2 separate regions of the Homo sapiens genome follow, and region 2 is linked to region 1. The links are contacts of gene promoters, found by promoter capture Hi-C in human tissues and cell types (Jung and others, 2019). All regions are on one chromosome and are shown on one strand. Each heading gives the region's core, a stretch centred on a gene start or on the middle of the fragment in contact. The rest is flanking DNA. Distances are from core to core; before and after follow the strand shown.

Evidence for each region. The method cuts DNA at HindIII sites, captures the fragments that hold promoters and counts their contacts. A contact is called where the count stands out against the background at its distance.
Region 2: a contact is called between a fragment that was not itself captured here and the fragment with the promoter of DBNDD2 in region 1, in 2 of the 25 tissues and cell types used here (liver and thymus).

What each region holds. Positions count from the first base shown.
Region 1 is chr20:45,403,864-45,409,733 of GRCh38, forward strand. DBNDD2 (dysbindin domain containing 2) reads left to right here and starts at 4,426. Exons shown (of 3, transcript NM_001048225.4): 1 at 4,426-4,743; 2 at 4,938-5,075. The coding sequence starts at 4,605. SYS1-DBNDD2 (SYS1-DBNDD2 readthrough (NMD candidate)) reads left to right here. Exons shown (of 6, transcript NR_003189.2): 4 at 4,597-4,743; 5 at 4,938-5,075. It overlaps LOC107985404 (a long non-coding RNA gene), which reads right to left and starts at 4,026. Exons shown (of 5, transcript XR_007067608.1): 1 at 3,886-4,026; 2 at 2,251-2,569; 3 at 1,854-1,957; 4 at 1-444. RefSeq lists an enhancer at 3,014-3,563. The HindIII fragment of the contact is 23,713 bases long and covers 1-5,870 here.
Region 2 is chr20:45,592,737-45,598,982 of GRCh38, forward strand. No RefSeq gene overlaps it. Among named protein-coding and RNA genes, the nearest start is that of WFDC8, 17 kb to the left of the region's middle. The HindIII fragment of the contact is 3,566 bases long and covers 1,459-5,024 here.

The DNA of each region.
Region 1 (5,870 bases), core at 3,176-5,675:
GGCTGAGGTGGGAGAATTGCTTGAATCCAGGAGGTGGAGGTTGCAGTGAGCTGAGATGGTGCCACTGCACTCCAGCCTGGGCAACAGAGCAAGACTCTGTCAAAAAAAAAAAGGGATACATCTCTGAAAATGGGGACATGACTGGGAGTGAGCTAAGCTCTTATCCACTGTACTCCTGACTTGGCCCTCATTTTCTGTGCTAGAAAATTAGATGAAGTATCTACTCTATCCATTAATGAGAAATAAGAATCAAACCAACCCAATGAAATAGTTCTTAGAAGATGAAAACTACAACAGGATAAAAGGGGAACAGGCACAGGATAAAAGGGTTGTAAGCACAGTCTCTAGAGGCAGTCTACCTGGGCTTAAATTCCAGGTCCATCACTTACTAGCTGTAGGGCCTGGGACAAGTTCCTTCACCTCTCTGTATCTCAACTTCTGTATCTGTAAAGTGGAAACAGCAAGAGGATTAAAAGGGTTAATTTTTGTAAAGCACTTATAATAGTGACTGGCACATAATAAGCTCTGTGGAAGTGTTAACAATTAGGGCTTACTTCCTATAATTTCAGAAATTTGTGGAAGACAGCAGTTCCCTCCCTTTCTCAGAACCCATTACCATCAAAACAGCTAACGATTACTGAGCATTTCCAAAGTGCCCAAGTCCTGTAACTAACCATTTTATATAAATTATCTTATAAGAGGGAGGGATTAATTATTCCTCTTTAGTAGGTAAGAGATCAAGGATCAGAGAAGTGTTTACCCAGCTGGCTAGAGGAATCAATAGGTTTACAACCCAAGAGGGTCTGACTGTATTGCCTGTGCTCTTAACCATTGCATTTGTTGCCTCCCACAAACTAGTTTCCATGCTTGTAAACTAGTGGGAAAATTGCATGCTGTATTTATCTCACAGGGTTGTTTTGAGATCCCAATAATGTTAAGAGGCAGTGCTTTAGTGTACAGAGTGCTGGTCCCCTGACAGGGAAACCTGAATGTGTCAATGATTTGTTCACACTTCCCTCCCTCTGCACATGCCCTTCTCCCTCTTTTCTGCTTGTTGAACTCATGTCTTCAAGACTTAGCTCAGATATCAGCGTCCAGATTTTATTCTAACAGTGGAGGAATTTAGGCAACGCCGCGTGGCGGGGGGGTCGAGGGGGGCACACCAGACTTGTGTTCTGAAATGACAGCTGACTTGTAATGCAGGGAATGGAGTGTAGCCGGGCCAGAATGAGTACAAGAAAACCAGATAGGGCCGGGCGCGGTGGCTCACGCCTGTAATCCCAGCACTTTGGGAGGCCGAGGCGGGTGGATCACGAGGTCAGGAGATCGAGACCATCCTGGCTAACAAGGTGAAACCCCGTCTCTACTAAAAATACAAAAAATTAGCCGGGTGCGGTGGCGGGCGCCTGTAGTCCCAGCTACTCGGGAGGCTGAGGCAGGAGAATGGCGTGAACCCAGGAAGCGGAGCTTGCAGTGAGCCGAGATTGCGCCATTGCAGTCCGCAGTCCGGCCTGGGCAACAGAGCGAGACTCCGTCTCAAAAAAAAAAAAAAAAAGAAAAGAAAACCAGATAGAAGGTTACTGCATTAGGAGCCCAGGCGGGAGGTGGTGGGGCAAACGGAAGGAATGGTGGACTGGAAAGATATTTAGGAAAGAGAATCGACAGGAAATGGAGGTGTATTTTAATATAGGCAGCGAGGGAGAGGGAGGTGGCAAGGATGACTCCTAGTTCCTGACTTGCTCGCGGATGTTTGTCGAATGAATGATCCAGTGACCCCAAGGCAGAAGTATCTCAGAGAGATCCCCCCACTCCCCTCCCCGCACCCGTCACCACGCTGCCTTCGGAGCTCTGACCGTAAGGGGGTGGATGGAAGGCAGGAGGAAGGGAATGGCCACGGAGTCTTGGTCCAGGAGCTGCTAGACTGGACACTTCTAGCACTGGTCTGAGCCAGGAGACGCTGCGAAAAGAGGGCAAACGTTTCTCCTCTCGCAGTTGCCGCCTCGCCCCTCCACCCCCGCCTGGCCAGCAGCGCAGCGCCCCTCTTAGCACCGTGGAGGTGCTGGCTCCTTGCCGGCGTCGGGGGGCGCGGCGTAGCGGCCCACCCTTCCAGCTCTGACCCGCCCGGCCGGCCCGGCGCCCACCCCGCCCAGTGTGCTTGGTAGGTTGGGCGGCGGCTCTGTCTAGTCCCAGAGCCAGGAATCAGGGGCAGCCGGGCGAGTCCCAGGGCAGGGGTCCTCCGCCGCCTTGCACCTGCCCTGCTGGGCGGCACCGGGTCAGTGCCCTGCCCCCTCCTGCGGGTCCCAACTCTCTCTTTCCCATCGTGCGTCCTCTGGAGAAGTGCGCGCGTGTAAGTGTGGCGAGTGTGGCCAAGGGTGCCGGAGGCAGGGTTCGGGTGCGTAGTCGTTGCGTGGGCGCTGCCCAAAAGGCGCAGAGCATCAAGTGTGCGTGGGCAGAACCGGCGCGGGCGCCCGCCGCGGGTCTGCGCGGGGCGGGGGCGCAGCAAGTGCATCCGAGCGAGCGGAGACTAGCGCACCGGCGTCGGTGGCGAGGGTGGTGCAGAGGAGTCCGGCTGGGCGGAGGGAGGAAGGATGGGTGCGGGTAACTTTTTGACCGCCTTGGAAGTACCAGTAGCCGCGCTCGCAGGGGCTGCCTCCGACCGCCGGGCGAGCTGCGAGCGAGTGAGCCCGCCACCGCCCCTCCCCCACTTCCGCCTCCCGCCTCTTCCTCGTTCCCGGCTCCCAGGGCCCGTCGGTCCCCCGGGAGCCCTGGAGGCGCAGCCCCACCCCGGCCGGCGCGGCTCGCTCCCACGCCCCCGCCGCGGCCTCGCTGGAGCGGACGGACTGAGTCAGAGGGGGCGCCAGCGCTGCAGGTAGGGGCTCCGGCGGCGGTGGGCGCAGGTGCCGCGGTGGACCGCGGAGGGGACCGGAGCACGAGGGGAACGGCCTTGGGGGAGCGCCCTCCCCCCGTCCTCCGCCGACGCCTCGTGTCCCTTTTTAGGGAATTTTTTCCCTCTTGCTGGCTCCAGTGCGGGTGGGGCTGAGACCGAGAGGGAGTTCTCCATTTCGCTGGCTCCTGCCCGGCCCCTGGCAGCCTCCTGCCCCCAAATCTCTTCACCCCCTTTCCAGTACCTATAGGTCGCGTAAACAACTCCCTTTCTCCAGCTCTGGGCTCCGCGGCCCCCCGGGGGACAGCTCCTTCAGTCTCGTGAGATCGGTGGGGTTAGGGGGAGGGGAAAAGAGAGGGGGTGTCCCAGAGCCCCTGGCCCCCGTCAGCTCCCCCACCTTGGCCTCTCCCTCCCCCTCCTCGCTGCTGGAGCACAGGCTCCAGGGGCCCTGGGTATTTTTAGCGTTGTGACCTGGGCGGCAGCTCTAAGAGCCTTTCCCGGGAATCGGCGTCAGCGCCTCGCTCCTCCGCCGCCAGCCCGCGGCCGCACGGTCTCCCCAGACTTCCGTGGCCCTGCCTTGGCCAGTCGGGGTTGGGTCCCTCTCCACCTCTGTGGCGCCCGTGGAGCTGGCCAGGGTCTGGGATACGCTGGGTGCAGATGAGGTGGGGAAGGCAGTCTGCGGAGGATGACGTCTGATCCTCAAGCTAGAAACTCCCTTGCCTCTGGTGATGGGCTCAGAGCAGAACGCCGGGAAGGAGATGAGCGAATGGGAATGAATGCACCGACCTGGGCTGGCCCATAGCCTCAGTGCTCTGGCAGGGTCTCAGCTTCTCAGCCCTAGGGGTCAGGAGGCCTGCTCTGAACTGGACCCAGAACCCGCCTTTCCAATTGCTCCTCACTGACTAATGGGGAGATAAGTCAGTGAGATGTGTCCCAGGAGGGGGACGCATAAAGAGCTGTTGGAGTTCAAAGGAAAGATGGTAGTCTCCTAAATAGCTCACCTTCACAAGCAGGGTCTTGTATTTGAGGCAGGTAGGTTGGTTATGCCATTTTCAGATGGGGAGACTAAGACCAGAAAGGTGATTTCCTTAGGGGCAGAGCCTAGTCTGGAAGTCAGGCCTGTGACTTCAGAGCAAGGGTTTGGGGTAGATGGCACATGCGTGTGTACGTGTTTGTGTGGGTGGAGAGAAAAGGAGGGGCGCGGGAGGAGTTGCTTTAGCCTTTGTCTGGGTTTTGAAGGATGGGAAGGGGTGGGCTGCAGCACTGGAGGAAGGGAACCCTCCACCCTGAGATCTCTGTCTCTATCCTATCCTGTCCCTGGCCTTCTGAGGCAAGCGGGGCCAATTAAGGGGAAAACGTACCTCCTCCATTTGTGCTGAACCAATCCCTCCAACCCCTCTCAGGAGGGCATGATATGGAGAGTTGGGCATTGGCTGTGTTCCCTGAATACAGAGTATCTCTCTTGTGGTGCCTGGAACTGGCATCCCCTTTGTGGAGCTTAGGGCAAGCCCCGCCTCTGCATGAGACTTGGTTTGTGGGACACACTTGGTTTCAGGGAAGGGGAAAGAGGTCACCAAGGGCAGAGGTGTCCAGGCCGGAGCCAGGGGCCCCACTGTTGGGATGCTGGCTGCAGTGGGGCGCCCCAAGCCCAGGTCCCCTCTGTCTTCTCTTTCGACTTTGCAGCTGTACTTGTTTTGCTCCTCTACCCGCAGGAGCTGACATGGACCCAAATCCTCGGGCCGCCCTGGAGCGCCAGCAGCTCCGCCTTCGGGAGCGGCAAAAATTCTTCGAGGACATTTTACAGCCAGAGACAGAGTTTGTCTTTCCTCTGTCCCATCTGCATCTCGAGTCGCAGAGACGTAAGTCCCAAGTCCTGAGAAGAGGGACTGGGGTAGGGTAGGGAGGATGTCCTGTGGGTCCTGAATCTTGTGGCACTCTCTCCCCTCTGGTTTTCTTGGCCCTCTATGCTTCTAACTTGGGACCTGACATGTAACTCTCACTGTCCTGGTGTGCAGCTTGGGTCCTCCTGACTTGCCCACTTCTTGATCCGCAGCCCCCATAGGTAGTATCTCATCCATGGAAGTGAATGTGGACACACTGGAGCAAGTAGAACTTATTGACCTTGGGGACCCGGATGCAGCAGATGTGTTCTTGCCTTGCGAAGATCCTCCACCAACCCCCCAGTCGTCTGGTATGCCCCTCTGCTTTGGGGACTTCAGTGCCAGTCAGCCAGAGCCGGATGTCAGGCTCTGAAACGAGGCTACAAGGCTGGGCTGGGGAAGTACACAAGTAAGGGCTGGAAGTGGGTGTTTCTACCAATGAAACAGCTGCCTGTTCTGATTTTAGGGAAGTTGACCCTGAGGGAGAACTGGGTTACACATCTCTAATCCAAAATTCTGGGAACGGTCAATCTCTTCTTTAATTTTACATTTGTTATATTAATATAATTAGTCACTATAATTAAAATAATGTAAAATTGTAATTTTTATATTTGGCAACTTAAGTAGTTTTAGTCATTATAATGATATTAATATGTATTGAGTACTTTAGTAGGTTCCAATACTGTACTAAAGTACTTTACATATATTATCTCAATCCTTACAACGTCCTGTCAGGGTAGGTGATATAATCTCTATTTTATAAGCAGGAAATTAGGCTCAGAGAAGTTAAGTCACATTGTAGCCAGAAGGTAGATAAACTGGAATTCATGTCTGTCTGACTCCAAAGCCCATATGCTTAACTTGTAAGATAGATATTCTTTTAATTAAAACTGCTACTATTTATTGATGGCTTACTATGCCAGACATTTTATAAGCATTCTTAGGTTTTATTCCCAAAACCCTTTGGGGATGTAGGTATCCCTTTTATTTTGCAGAGGAGGAACAGAGTCCTTGAAAGGGAAAGTGACTTGCTCAAAGCCACTCAGCAGCAATAAGTGATGTAGGTGGAACTTGAACTCTTGCCATTCATTGACCTGACTGTAGAT
Region 2 (6,246 bases), core at 1,992-4,491, 190 kb after region 1:
GATGTCAGTAGCACCAACCCCCAAGTTGTGACAATTAAAAATGTCTTCAAACATTGCCAAATGTCCCCTAGTGGGCACAATTGTCCTGACTTGGGAACCACAGATTAGATTTACCCACATATTTTCCCTTTCTGTTTTTCTTCATTCCTTCTTCCATTTTCTTGTTCATCATTTGCCTGCATAAATCTCTGATATTTCATTTCTTTTCTTTTCTTTTTTTTTTTTTTTGAGATAGAGTCTCACTCACCCAGGCTGGAGAGCAGTGGCGTGATCCTGGCTCACTGCAACCTCCATCTCCTGGGTTCAAGCAATTCTCCTGCCTCATCCTCCCATGTAGCTGGGACTACAAGCATGTGCCACCACACCTAGCTAATTTTTGTATTTTTAGTAGAGACGAGGTTTCACCATGTTGGCCAGGCTGGTCTTGAACTCCTGACCTCAAGTGATACACCCTCCTTGGCCTCCCAAAGTGCTGGGATTGCAGGTGTGAGCCACTGTGCCTGGCCTGATATTTCTTTCCATGTGAAAGTGCTGGTGATGAATTTTCTCAGTCTTTCTCTGAAAATACCTTAGTTCTGGTCTTATTTTTGAAAGATTTTTTTCTTAGGTATAGAATTCTAGGTTAGCATTATTTTCCATCAGCAAGTTGAAGATATCATTCCATTGTCTTCTCCCTTTCATTATTTCCATTGGGAAGACAGCTATCAGTATTACTGTTATTCTTAAAAAGGCATGTCTTTTTTTCTGTCAGATTTTAAGATTTTTCTCTTTGCTTTGGCTTCAAGTAAAATTAAAACAGATATACCTACATATGGTTTTACTGTGATGTGCCTAGGTGTTCACTGGTCTCAGGCGGCTTCTTTAATATGTAGCTTGATGTCTTATATCAGTTTACCAAATTCTCAGCCATTTTCCCTTTCTTTGCTCTATTCTGTCTTTCTTCTCCTTCTGCATCTCCAATTACACATATGTTAGTTCTCTCACTATATGCTATATGTCACATTCATTCTTTTCTATACTTTCTAGTATTATTTTCCTCTCCCTGTTTTAGTCTGGATATGTTCTGCTAACTTATCTTTCAGTTTGATCAACCTCTCTTCAGCTGGGTCCAGGCTTCTCTAAATAGCATACACTGATTATTTTATTTTTATCATTGTATTTTTATTTTTGGGATTTTGATTATTTTCTTTTTTATTATAATGAGTCTCTTGAATACAGCACACAGGTGGATTTTGACTCTATCTGGCTTGCCACTCTGTGTCCTTAAATTGGGGGCATTTAACCCATTTACATTTAAAGTTAATATTGTTATGTGTGAATTGTATCCTGATATCATGATGCCTGTTGGTTATTTTGCAGACCTGTTTATGCATTTGCTTCATAGTGTCACTCATCTGTGTGTTTCAGTGTGTTTTTTGTAGCGGCTGGTATTGGTTTTTCCTTCCATGTTTAGTGCTTCCTTCAGAAGCTCTTGGAAGGCAGACCTGGTGGTGACAAATTCCCTCAGCATTTGCTGTCTGAAAAAGATTTTATTTCTCCTTCACTTAGGAAGCTCAGCTGGGCCAAATATTAAATTCTAGGTTGGAAATTATTTGCTTTAAGGGTGTTTAAAATTGGCCCCCGATCTCTTCTGGCTTGTAGGGTTTCTGCTGAGATGTCTGCTGTTAGTCTGATGGGCTTCCCTTTACAGGTAACCTGGTCCTTCTCTCTGGCTGCCCTTAACATTTTTTTTTTCATTTTGACCTTGTAGAATCTGATGATTATGTGTCAGGGCTGATCTTCTCATGGAGTATTTTACTGGGGTTCTCTGGATTTCCTGAGTTTGAATGTTGGCCTGTCTTGCTAGGTTGGGTGAGTTTTCCTGGATGATACACTGAAGTGTATTTTCCTACTTGGTTTCATTCTCCCAGTCTCTTTCAGGTACCCCATCATTTCTAGGTTCAGTCTTTTAACATAGTCCCATAGTTCTTGGAGGTTTTGTTCATTCCTTTTCATTCTTTTTTTCTCTAATCTTGTCTGCCTGCCTTATTTCAGCAAGATAGTCTTCAAGCTCTGATATCCTTTCTTCCACTTGGTCTATTCAGCTATTGATACTTGTGTTTGCATTATGAAGTTCTCATGTTGTGTTTTTCAGCTCCATCAGATCATTTATGTTCCTCTCTAAAGTGGTGATTCTGATTAACAGCACCTGTGATGTTTTATCATAGTTCTTAGCTTCTTTGCTGTGAGTTAGAACATAATCCTTTAGCTTGGTGAAGTTCTTTATTACCCATCTTCCTAAGCCTACTTCTGTCAATTCATCCATCTCAGTCTCAGCCCATTTCTGTGCCCTTGCTAGAGAGGTGTTGCAACTCTCTGAAGGAGAAGAGGCACTCTGGCTTTTTGAGTTTTCAGCATTTTTTCTCATCTTCATGGGTTTATCTACCTTTGATCTTTGAGGCTGCTGACATTTGAATGGAGTTTTTTATGGTGCCTTTTTCATTGATGCTGTTGCATTCTGTTTGCTTTTATTTTAGCAGTCAGGCTCCTCTTCTGCAGGGCTGCTGCAGTTTGCTTGTGGTCCACTCCAGTTCCTATTTGCCTGGGTCCCTCCCATCCCTGGAGTTATCACCAGTGGAGGCTGCAGACCAGCAAAGATGCCAAGCTGCTCCTTCCTCTGAGAGCTCTGTCTTAGAGGGGCACTGGCCTGACGCCAGCTGAAACACTCCTGCATGAGGTGTGTGGAGACTCCTGTTGAGAGGTCTCACTTAGTCAGCAGGAGCAGGGTCAGAGACCTGCTTAAATAAGCAGAGTTTCTGCCCCTTGAAGGGTGTGCCACACTGGGGGAATCACCCTCATCTGGGCTGCCCTGACTCTCCAGAGCCAGTAGGCAGAAAAGACAGATCATTGATCCACAATACCACAGCTGTCCCTCCTCCTAGGAGGTCCTCTCAGGGTTATCAGTGCCCCATCCATAAACCCCTGGCTGGGGATACTGAGATTCCCACTGGGAGGCCCCAACCAGCACTTTGGGAGGCCAAGGCAGGCAGATCACTTGAGGTGAGGAGTTGAAGACCAACCTGGCTAACATGGCGAAACCCCATCTCTACTAAATATACAAAAATTAGCCAGACATGGTGGCATGCACGTGTAATCCCAGCTACTTGGGAGGCTGAGGCATGAGAATTGCCTGAACCTGGGAGGTAGAGGTTGCAGTGAGCTGAGATCGTGCCACTGCACTCCAGCCTGGACGACAGAGTGAGACTCCGTCTCAAAAATAAATAAATTAACCCTAATGAATAAAGCTTTAATTGTGGGGCATTCAGATAATGGAAAATTGTCCTTAGTTAGGGGGGACTTCTGAAAGCCCTTCTCATTTTGTCCCTGTTGACACAAGCAACATTGCCTTTGCTTGGCATGAAACCCAGCAGCAGGGCCTAGGCACAGAGATCAGCTCCCTAACTATTCTGTTGATGCAACAGCATCACTGGATGTCTCATATCTGAGATACTGCTGATCTGTTCTCCTCTTGGTTTGGGCACAAACCATGCAGATGGGACATTAGTGATGTTCCGATGATGCAGTGTCCCAGGTAGCAAAAGCAATAAGGCAGAGGTTGATCCGAGTGAGGGTAGGAATAGGGCATGGAGTGATGCTCTGGATTCTTGGCCTCTGCACTTAGCACAAAGGAGGAGTGTCTGGAGCAGACTGACAAGGAACAAAATAGTTCCAGGAGACAGGTGCCATGCTGCTGCTTATTTGGGTTGAAACACACCAGCCTAGATTAGTGTTTCTTTGAACAACTATTAATAATATTTGTTGCTTGGAACAATAGTTGTTAGTTGTAACTAATAAATCTATTGCTTACCCCTGCTATACCCATGGGATACACCCCACCCCACCTTCATCTATCCATTACAAAAAAACTCCTGTGTTCCCACAGAAGTCAAAACAGATATTTCCCCCCCTGGGGAATGCTCCTGATAAAATCCACAGTACTGCAGATGGAGGGCTCCTAGACTTAAAAAGACTCTTCAGGGCACTATGTGAAAATAGAAGAGATCCTCTGACTTGAGACAGAGCAAGAACCTATGGGGAAATTCTAGACTCCAGAAAAGAATCCAGACCTTTTATATCCATTATAAGAGGGAGCAAAAGGAAAAAAGAAAGTACAGAAATTCCAAATTGAACACCAAGTTCACAGTCCAGTGTGATGTCAGAACTGGGGACCAGGCAGAGCACATGATGTCAAAGTAGGAAAACAGGATTTCATTCCTTCTCTTCTTCCCTCTCTGTCAGGGTCCAGAGAGAGCCTGGGCTGGGTCTATTTTCTCCAGGATAAAAATATATATACACTCAAAAGTGTCCCAATTCCTTCTTTTTTTTTTTTTTTTTTTTTTTTTGAGACGGAGTCTCGTGCTGCCACCCAGGCTGGAGTGCAGTGTCGCAATCTCCGCTCACTGCAACTTCCGCCTCCCAGGTTCAAGTGATTGTCTTGCCTCAGCCTCCCAAGTAGCTGGGATTACAAGCATGCACTACCACGCCTGGCTACTTTTTGTATTTTAGTAAAGATGAGGTTTCACCATATTGGTCAGGCTGGTCTCGAACTCCTGGCCTCAGGTGGTCTGCCCGCCTCAGCCTCCTACAGTGCTGGGATTACAGATGTGAGCCACCGTGTCCAGCCCCAATCCTTTCCTGTTTCTCAAGGCCATGTTTACATTTAGCATGCCCCAGGGACCCTACTCTGAACCTCTCACCATCAACTTCCTCTCTACCCTCTCCCCTTAACTCATAGGTACTGACTGTGAGTCCCCTTATGCTTTGTTATCATGCTCTACTCTGGACTCTACTTGTCTATATTATAAAACTTATAATGCTGAAAGGCATGTAGCTACCTTATCCATCTGTGCATGAATACCTAGTCCCTTTTCCTATAGAGAGGTATCAACCCAGGCACACAGTAGCAATTTTATAACCTCCTGTTGATTACTTAATGGAAGTTATTAAATTTTAAAATGAGCCTATTACAGGTTATGTGGATCCTGAAAGAGTAAATGACCACTAGTGGAAATGAAATCAACTAGGCAAAAAGGACAAATCTAATACTTCTTAAACCGAGGAATAGGTAATAGTACCTTTGAGTACTGCTACTTTGAAGGCTATCCTTCCATGAAGGAAATTAAGGACAACTAGAGGAAACAGAGGAATGGTCTTAAGAAAGGAAAAAAGAGGGTAAGGATAAATGGAGAAGCAAGTTGAGGGCACCTGTGGATCAGTTATGGGGATATGCCCATATACGGGTGGTTGCTTCCTACAGATATTGGGTACATGTAGAAGGGAGAGGTCTTTGGGGACCTGGTCGAGAAAAAGTGGCTATGTGATGAGTGGCAGGGATGGGAAGTCAGTGAAGAAGTCAAAGCTCTTGGACAGAAAGAAGAGTCAGGTACGTGGCTTTAATGAGGGAAGCTAAGGGTGCTGGAGATGGAGTAGTAGAAGCAGAAATCCTAGGTCTGCTTGATTGGAATATCAAGGCTGGGATATTCTCTCCCATGGAAGTGGGTCCAGGTGAAGCAAGGAGGTAACCCTGTCTCCCTCTCTTCCTTTCCCATCTCCCACTGATGGATCACAAGGCCAGGTAACCTTGGCCATTTACTTGTCAGTCCAGGCACATCTCTCTCTGGTCAATGTAGAAATCCATATATGAATCCATTTGGAAGTGCCTGAATAATAATCCACCTGTTGGGATTGTGTCAGGGCAGGTAGGTATGTACAACAGGCTGAGGAACCTTGAGAATCTACCCTTTTCAAACTTAACAACCCTTCTAGACTCCAGAATCCATGGATTTAACTGCTTCTTAAGAAAGCGTCCTCTTTGTACTCTCCAAGTCCTGTGTTTGCTTAAACTCACTCCCTTTGCCTGATCTGCTCCTGCAGTCTCCCACAGGATCCACAATGTGCTGGCCTCTAGAGCTTCCCTATTTCCCCTTGGCCAAAATGAAATCTACTTTTATCATCCCAAACTCTAATGAAGTCATCCAGTGAAATCCATACTCATAGAACTCGAGATCCCAAAAGAGCCTGAGAGTTCCTCTAGACTCTCACCCATATCTTATCTCTCCCTGACTCTTATTCTCTCTCTACTGTCAATCACTCACTCCAGTCGTCTTCTAGAGTCCTTCTTTAACCTTCTTTCCAACCTCTTGACCTTTCCACTATTACTAGTGTCATAGCTCATAAGTATCCAGACTTCACCATCTTCTCCCTTTT